Linked DNA regions of Homo sapiens: regions 2 and 3 are each linked to region 1. The links are contacts of gene promoters, found by promoter capture Hi-C in blood cells and fetal thymus (Javierre and others, 2016). All regions are on one chromosome and are shown on one strand. Each heading gives the region's core, a stretch centred on a gene start or on the middle of the fragment in contact. The rest is flanking DNA. Distances are from core to core; before and after follow the strand shown. Region 1 holds the start of MYH7 (myosin heavy chain 7). Region 2 has its middle 3.6 kb from the start of EFS. Region 3 has its middle 6.5 kb from the start of PABPN1.

Region 1 (2,700 bases), core at 13-2,512:
CTTGTTTTTCAAACCCTATTCCCTTTTTCCTCAAGAACTAGTTCTAACAGCTTCCTGGTGTCAACTCAACCTGAACCCTAATCCTCTTCACTCCTGCGAGATGGTCCCACCCCTGCCTGTACCCATCTAGTGGTACCTTTCTTTGAGCCATCTGAGAGACAACTAATGGTCACATTTGTTCGGCACTTTCCAGTCTAAAAGCACTTCAATGCACTTTCTCCTACTCAGTCTTCACCCCATTTGACAGATGAGGAAATCGAGGTTAAATGGCTTGCTTGGCCAAGAGCCCATGACAACAAGTGGGAGAGCCAAGACTTGAATGCAAGTCTGATGACTCTAAAGAGACTTCTTTTCCATCCTGTCCCCATTTTGTTGTCAGACTTTGTGGACATTCTCAGAGAGAAGACACTGTGGGCTTCCTCTCACAGACACACCCATCACATAGCCAAACACCCTCCACAAGCCCTCTGATGAACACTCATGCCTGCTGCTTGGGCATGCCTCTCACATGAAGACAGGCTTCCTTCCCATACCTCAATCCGCACCCCAACCCCAGGGTGCCATATATGCCTCAACAGCAAATGTGCACATTTCAGGATGTGTGCCACGTAAGTAGATCACATCACTGCGTGTTCTTCAGTACACAAAGACCTGGAACATCCTACACCCCCGTGCCTGTGAGTTCCTTCTGCAGAGGGTACAGATACTATAACAGTCATGACTCGTGGAGGCATAGACAAGAACCTCTGCATGCATGGACAGGGGTAGCTACACATTCCAGGCCTCACAGAATCACATGAAGGCATACACACTTCCTAGAATCCTTCTCCACCATTCTTTCTCCCTCCCTGCAAAGGAACCTCCTCGTTCACAGACGTGATCATACACCCACATCTCCCACTTGATATTTCTGTATCAGTCAGTGAGGTACATACCCTTTCTCACATTCAGACTATGCAGGCTTGTCCACACACACACACACACACACACACACACACACACCCTGTAATGCATATTGGTCCCATATGCTCAGATGCAGATATCTTCCCCTAGGAACTCCTGTGGCACATACGCCCATGTTTAGACCTGCACATGTGTGCCCAGTGACTGGACCTGGTACTCTGCATGAAGTCCTGCATGAAGCTTGCTATTCCAAGAGGAATCCCTTCCTAAGCCTGGAGCCCCCTTATCCCAGAGTAAAGCCTCCAGCTCCCGCTCCTACCTGAGAGCAGCAGGGAAAGACACAGAGCAGGACAGAGCTGTGGAGCCAGACCTGGTCTCAGGGGCTGTATATATGGGGCAGCAGGGCACCCCCACCCCCAACGGCACCCAGTCCCTAGCCGGATTTAGAAAGGGCTGTTGTCACTAGAAGCATTTCCCCCAGGCTCCCCCCCTTCCCAAACAGTGCTCCCCTCCCCGCCTCTCCAGCTAGGAAACAATTGGAAGTGGTCGTCATTGTTATGGCATGGACTGTGCAGGGTCTGAGTTCCAGGGGGCGGGGTGGCTCAAAGTGCAGCAAAAATATCTCCCAGGCCAGGCCTCACATTCCACAGCTGGCAGGAGAGGGAACTGACCACGACCACCAAGACCACAGGCAGCCAATGTCCTGGCTCTCCCGCAGGGCACTTCTGGCCCTGGACACTGCTCCCCCTCCAGTCCCCTGCTGCGAGGCCCCTGATGGCCTGGCCGCATTTCCACAGTGTCCTCCCTGCTCTCCTGGCCCAGGTCCTGTATCCAACTGGAAGCTGGGAAGGGGCTGAGTGTCAGCAGCAGAGAAGGGTAGGACAGAGTTGGGGGCATGGCCCCAGGGTGAGGCAGCTAGACTGGGGCAGCTGGAAGGACATTTCCTAGCCAGGTGGCAAGAACAATAACCATGGAGCTTAGAGATGGGGACTCTGGCTCAGGCACTGATTTCCTTGGACCAGCAGGCAATGTGTTGAGGTCACCAAGCCTCCGAGCCAGACAGGCCTTTAGCAATCCATCCAAGCACTTCATTTAATGGAGAGGGACAGTGCATTCTTTAAGGTTATACAGCTAATCGGGGCAGCAGGATTCAAGGTGGGAAACCTCAGCAGATGGGAGTGGAGCCCGGCCTGTGGAGGGTAGCCTGGAAAGGTGGGCTGGGATTCCAAAGATGTGGGGACCCCCTATGCGCAGAGAGCAGGACCCAGCTGCATTGGTCCTAGTTTGGAGCGGTTTGCCTGACTCACGTTCCTGGCTCTGCCCCACAGGTACTAAAGGCCTGAGCCCAGAGACAGACCCTCTCAGAGCTATAGATAATACAACTACTTGGAGCTGGAAGGAGACCCCTAAGACAGCTGTTGTCTGGCCCACCCAGCCTCAGCTTTATCCAGAGCTGGAGGCGACTAGTGTTCTGGCAAGTGAGGCAGAGTAACAGGACAGGAAAAATCTTCCCCTCTGCAGGCCTGAGGAACAGCCACAAAGGAGGGGAGGAAAGGGAGCTGGGGCCCAGCCTACGAGCACAGAACACAACCGATGCCATGCTCTTCTAGCAACGGGGCATGCAAGCTTGACTGGCTCCGTGTCTAGGCAACCACTGCACGATTTGGTGTGAAATCTCCCCCTTCTTCCCAAGCACAGCTCTTCCGCGCATGCGGATTAGTCCATCTGATTAGCTGTCAGCTTGGAAGGAGTGAGGCAGGCCTGGGGGATGGGTGCAGCAGGTACATTTTGAAGGTG
Region 2 (2,765 bases), core at 121-2,620, 67 kb before region 1:
AGGCCCACACATCTAGGCATTTCCTAGGAGAGTGTGGTCAGGACACCTGCCCCAGCTCCTTCCCCACTGTATTACCTGGGCACCTGTGAAGAAACCTCTGCTGGAAGGGTGTGGTGGAGCCTATGGGGTGGAATAGGGAGAGATTCTGGGATAAACATGGGGATGGGGATAAACTGTGTTGGCTCTAGGCTGGCTCTCCATGATGGAAGACTCCTGAATAGATTCCAACTCCACTGGGATGGTAGAGGAACTTTTAAATTTCCAGGGAGAGCTCCTGCTTCCCAGCTCCAGTTAGGTTAGAGGTGGCCACTAGGGAAGATTTTCCAACCTCTTCCAGACCCCAGCCCTGGGGGACCTGGCTGCCAGGCACACGGATATCCAGCTGCTGGCGAGTGACTTGGTGTGATCTCTGCCCAGGAGACTGCCAAGGCAAATTGGGGTCCAAGGTGGAGGTGGGCAGGAAACCCTGTCTTCAAAGATGAATGCTTTGACTGGCACGAGGGGAAATAGATGGAGGCCAGAAAAGGCTAAGGAGGAAGGAAACTGCTAGGACCAGGCAAGGGTTGGCTTGGGAGATGGGCAGGCAGTTTCCCTGCCCGGGGAAGGGTAGAAGAGGGACAGCAGAGGACAGACCAGTGGGAAATAAGGCTGCTTCTGGAATATCCAGGTGTGGAATGGAGCCAGTCAGAGTCACAAGTGAATCCTGCTTAACTAGCTGTGTGACCTTTGTCCAGTTATAGGGCATCCGAGTCTCAGGTCCTCCTCTGTGGCAGTGACTTTGGTGAGGAGTAAGCTTATGTAGATTGCCAGGCACAGTGCTCTTCTTCCATGGCTTTTCCTCTTTACCTTGGCTTCCCCTCTGACTTGTGCTTTCCAGAAAGCTGAATGTGTTCGTTGTTGAGGGCAGGTGAGGTTGGAGAAAACCCAGGCTTGGCAGGTAGCTGAGACCCTGGGTGGGTGGCAGCCTCAAGCAGTGGGTCTTCAAGGTTTGCCCTTGCCATATTCAGGGAGAAGAAGGGAAGGAACCCCTCCATTTGGCTTCCCGGGTCCCAGTCTTTTCTCCCATTCTTTCCCCTTCCCTGCAGGTCCAATGAGCTGGTTTTTTCCTCACCTGACCCCAAGACTTCCTGGACCTCTCCTTGTTTCTCCTGCTACCCAAAACTTCTTGGGTGCTCACCAATTCTTCAGTTCTCCTCTCTTTGGACCCATAGCACCTAGATTGCCTGGGTTCTAATCCTGGTTCTAACACTGGCTAGTTACCTTGGCCAAGTTCTGTGACTTCCTGGAGCCTCTGGTTCCTTGTCTGTAGAGTGGGAATGTTAATTGAACTTTTAGCATTTACTTGTTATGAGGATTAAGGGAATCCCAAGAACAGTATCAGGCCCATGAGGTGTAAATTTTGGACAAAGGCAACTACTATTATTGTTATTTGGTGATGGCCTTGTGGTGGCACTAGAATGTCAAGGACATGGTGCCTGCCCTCAAGAAACATATCATGTAGCTCATGCTTGAATCCAGTCAATATCTTCCGGCTGACTCTGGAATAAAATCCAAATGCTCCATGGTAGCCTGGAGGACCCTATGTGATCTCCTCCCTGCCCACCTCTTTCACCTCATCTTGTCTCCCTCTCCTCCTTATCTCTTGTTCAACATCTACACTGTCCTTTCTGTTTCTCAAATATGCCATGCTCTTTTCCACCTCTAGGACTCTGCATGTCCTGCCCCCTCTGCCTAAACTACTTCCCCCAGACCCTTTCTGTCATCAGGTGAAATCCTGCATCCTCAGAAAGGCCTTTCCTGGCTTTCCAACTTAAAGTTGCCCTGCCTTCCTCTCCCCCACCCCCAGTAACTCCCTATCTCATAATGCTGTTTCATTTTCTTCATAGCACTTATTATTATCAGAAATTATCTTGTTTCCTTGTTTATAATCTGTCTCCCCCTAAAACGTAAGCTTCATGAGGCAGGGACCTTGTCTGGCTTGTCCTCCCCTGCATTTCTAGCTGTTAGAATAGTGCTTGGAACACAGTAGGTGCACAGTAAATATTTGGTGAGTGGATAAGTGAACGAAGGCAGCCATGACTATAGGACAAAGCCGAGTAAGCTGAGGGGCCTCCTGGGGAAGGCTACAGCCCTGGACTAAAGACATGGGTTTGTTGGGTTCTTGGTTCTGCTAACTCTGATTCTCCATGTGTCTCCCAGGGTCTAGACTGGGTTCTCCTTGAAGGCTGCTCCTGAGCCTAGGCGTTTTTGTAGCTAAACCATTATCATCTACCAATCAGAAAGTGGTAGCACTGTTCTGGGGGCCTCCATCTGTGCCAGGTGTTCAACCTTTAGTTGCTGGATCATAGGGAAGTATGGTAAGGTGGTGTCCCAAGGCTGAAGGAAGCATCTACTTACCAGCAGGAGCAGAAGTATTTCAACATTTTGATGTTCGGTGCCTTAGCTTCATGTACAGTGAGTGCCGATGAGCTTCAGTAGACCCTGCTGAGTCCTGTGGATTCAGCACTATTTCAGGAGCTGAGGTCTGGAGCAGCTAAGCTGGTTGGCACCTTTGTGACCATCCAGGTCAATGTTCCCCCCAATCCCCGCCCACCCAAACCCACCCACTTCTACAATTGAAGAGGGAGGAGCAGAGAGAGGGCTCAAGATCCAGAGCTGGTCATTGGCAGGGCCAAGACTTCAAGGCAGCAGGTGGAGACTTGCATATCTTCCTGAGAAGGGGCGGGGAAGACATATTCTCACTTTCTGTAAGCCCCAAGAGCCTT
Region 3 (2,700 bases), core at 89-2,588, 110 kb before region 1:
TGAGCCAAGTTCACACCACTGCACTCCAGCCTGGGTGACAGAGTGAAACTGTCTCAAAATAAAAAAAGGAATAGCCGAATTACTGACCTAATGGCGCTTTTGTGTGCTCCTGATACAGCTTACGTGCAAATGAACTATCCATGCCTGCAGCCCTAGAGCTTTGGATTGGGGTCTGGGTAACCTTGTCTTTGGGGTCTCGCTATGTTGACCAAGCAATCTTCCCATCTTAGCCTCCCAAAGTATTGGGATTACAAGTGTGAACCACTGCACCCAGCTACCTTTTCTACCTCAAGGTGGGCCCAAGAAATGCAGAAGACAAAATACACTTAGCTAAGAGACAATCGGAAAGCTTGTTTTTCCAACCATGCAGTAACCATTTAATGTGTCCAGCTAACTTATATTAATTGGATCATTTATTTTTTTGAGATGGTCTTGCTTTGTCACCCAGGCTGGAGTGCAGTGGCTCACTGCAGCCTCAACCTCCCGGGCTCAAGTGATCCTCCCACCTCAGTGTCCTACATAGCTGTGACTATAGGTGCCTGCCTTCACACTTGGCTAATTTTTTGTAGAGACAGTTTTGCTGTGTTGCCCAGGCTGTCCCAAACTCCTGAGCTCAAGCAGTCCTCCTGGCTTGGCCTTCCTATAGGCGTGAGCCACAGCTCCTGGCCAGGATTAGTTTATTAGGACTTCACAACTGGCTTTCACTGTTTTCATATCTAAATTTTGTCTTGGGCATCCTAATTTCTCCATTTTTTATTCCAGTGTCAGATTGGTCTTAAAACTTGAACACTACATCACTAGCCAGGTTGAACCTTCAGACTTCATTACCTATAGAATTTCTTAGTATTTCAACCTTACTATTTTTTCATTTACTTCTCAGGATGTTTTGTTCACAATTGCCTCTGACCTGGATGCTCTTCAAAAATCATATGTTAAAGAAATGGCTCTGTGGCCGGGCGCAGTGGCTCACACCTGCAGTCTCAGCACTTTGGGAGGCAGAGGTGGGCGGATCACTTGAGGTCAGGAGTTTGAGACCAGCCTGGCCAACATGGTGAAATCCCGTCTCTACTAAAAATACAAAAATTAGCCAGGTGTGGTGGCATGCACCTGTAGTCCCAGCTACTCTGGAGGCTAAGGCAGGAGAATCGTTTGAACATAGGAGGTGGAGATTGAGGTGAGCTGAGACTCAGCCACTGCACTTCCAGCCTGGGTGACAGAGCGAGACTCTGTCTCAAAACAAACAAAACAAAAAACTCTGTTATATCTGAAGCCTTAACCCACCTCTCAAATTGCAGTATTTTCTAAAATCTCATGTCAGTGTTATCCACCACATATTTTAGGATTTGGTCATTTATTCTACTTTCTGTTATGGGTTAGGCATTTGAGGTCTATCTTTTCTCCTAACTAGATTCACCTAAAATAGTGCCGTGATCTCTGTGGCTTCTGCAGAGGCTGATTAGTGAGGGTCTGGATAGTGTTCAATATAAACTTTTTACTGGAAGAATGAAACAGCCTAAGTGACTTGTTGCTGTTAATGCTGTGATGGTCTCATCTGTCCACCAGGGGGCACTAAATGGCTGGCTCTAAAAGATCCCCATAAATTGTTGGGTATTGGAGGGTGAATCATGTTTTGACCCTTCTCTGGTTTAGTTTTCCATATTCAGTCAATTCTACCATATCTTGTCTGTTCTCTCTATTCCTACTTTCACTGCTTGAGTAACTCCCCATCATCATTGCAGGGGTCCTGGCAGATGTATTGGCTTCAAATTTTTTTTTGAAAAATAAAAATTCCTAAAAAAAGTACTTTAAAAGATAGGGTCTCGCTATGTTGGCCAAGTTGATCTTGAACTCTTGGCCTCAAGCAATCCTCCTGCCTCGGCCTCCCAAAGTGCTAGGTTTATAGGCGTAAGCTACCATGCTCAGCCTCCAAACTTCTTATTGCCAAAAAAAGCCCTCTATGATGCCACCAATAAGTACAAAGTCCAAACACAAGCATGGAACTACAACCTTTTTCAATCTGATCCTGATTACATTTCTCTTCCAGATCCTGCCCTACACCTGATGTACTATGCATTGTAGTTGTTATTTATTTTCATGTATCCCTCATGCTGTTCCCTCTAGCCTGCTATGCTCATTCCAACTCTTCTATGAAAATCACGCATATCCTTCCAAGTGTAAGCCAGGTACAACAGACATGAAGCCTTTCCTGATTTCCAAGTCAGAAGTAATCACTCCTGCAGTCAGGACAAACTGTTCCTATCCCTGTTTAATATTTACTTTGTGGTTTTATAATGAAACTAACTACATTTCTGTTTTCCCACTAGAATGCAAGCTTCTTCTTTTTTTTTTTTTTTTTTTTTTTTTTTTTTTTGAGACGGAGTCTCGCTCTGTCGCCCAGGCTGGCCTGCGGACTGCAGTGGCGGGATCTCGGCTCACTGCAAGCTCCGCTTCCCGGGTTCACGCCATTCTCCTGCCTCAGCCTCCCGAGTAGCTGGGACTACAGGCGCCCGCCACCGCGCCCGGCTAATTTTTTGTATTTTTAGTAGAGACGGGGTTTCACCTTGTTAGCCAGGATGGTCTCGATCTCCTGACCTCATGATCCACCCGCCTCGGCCTCCCAAAGTGCTGGGATTACAGGCGTGAGCCACCGCGCCCGGCCGAATGCAAGCTTCTTGAGGGCATCAATTGTGACTTTGTGTC

The links. Contacts are between HindIII fragments. The CHiCAGO score rates a contact against its expected background, and 5 or more counts as called.
Region 2: a contact is called between a fragment that was not itself captured here and the fragment with the promoter of MYH7 in region 1, in 1 of 17 cell types (megakaryocytes). The highest score is 5.1, in megakaryocytes.
Region 3: a contact is called between a fragment that was not itself captured here and the fragment with the promoter of MYH7 in region 1, in 1 of 17 cell types (megakaryocytes). The highest score is 10.2, in megakaryocytes.

What each region holds. Positions count from the first base shown.
Region 1 is chr14:23,434,398-23,437,097 of GRCh38, forward strand. MYH7 (myosin heavy chain 7) reads right to left here and starts at 1,263. Exons shown (of 40, transcript NM_000257.4): 1 at 1,223-1,263. RefSeq lists an enhancer at 1,123-1,960. The HindIII fragment of the contact is 1,386 bases long and covers 1,142-2,527 here.
Region 2 is chr14:23,367,350-23,370,114 of GRCh38, forward strand. No RefSeq gene overlaps it. Among named protein-coding and RNA genes, the nearest start is that of EFS, 3.6 kb to the left of the region's middle. The HindIII fragment of the contact is 1,158 bases long and covers 792-1,949 here.
Region 3 is chr14:23,326,652-23,329,351 of GRCh38, forward strand. No RefSeq gene overlaps it. Among named protein-coding and RNA genes, the nearest start is that of PABPN1, 6.5 kb to the left of the region's middle. RefSeq lists a silencer at 1,542-1,631. The HindIII fragment of the contact is 1,983 bases long and covers 348-2,330 here.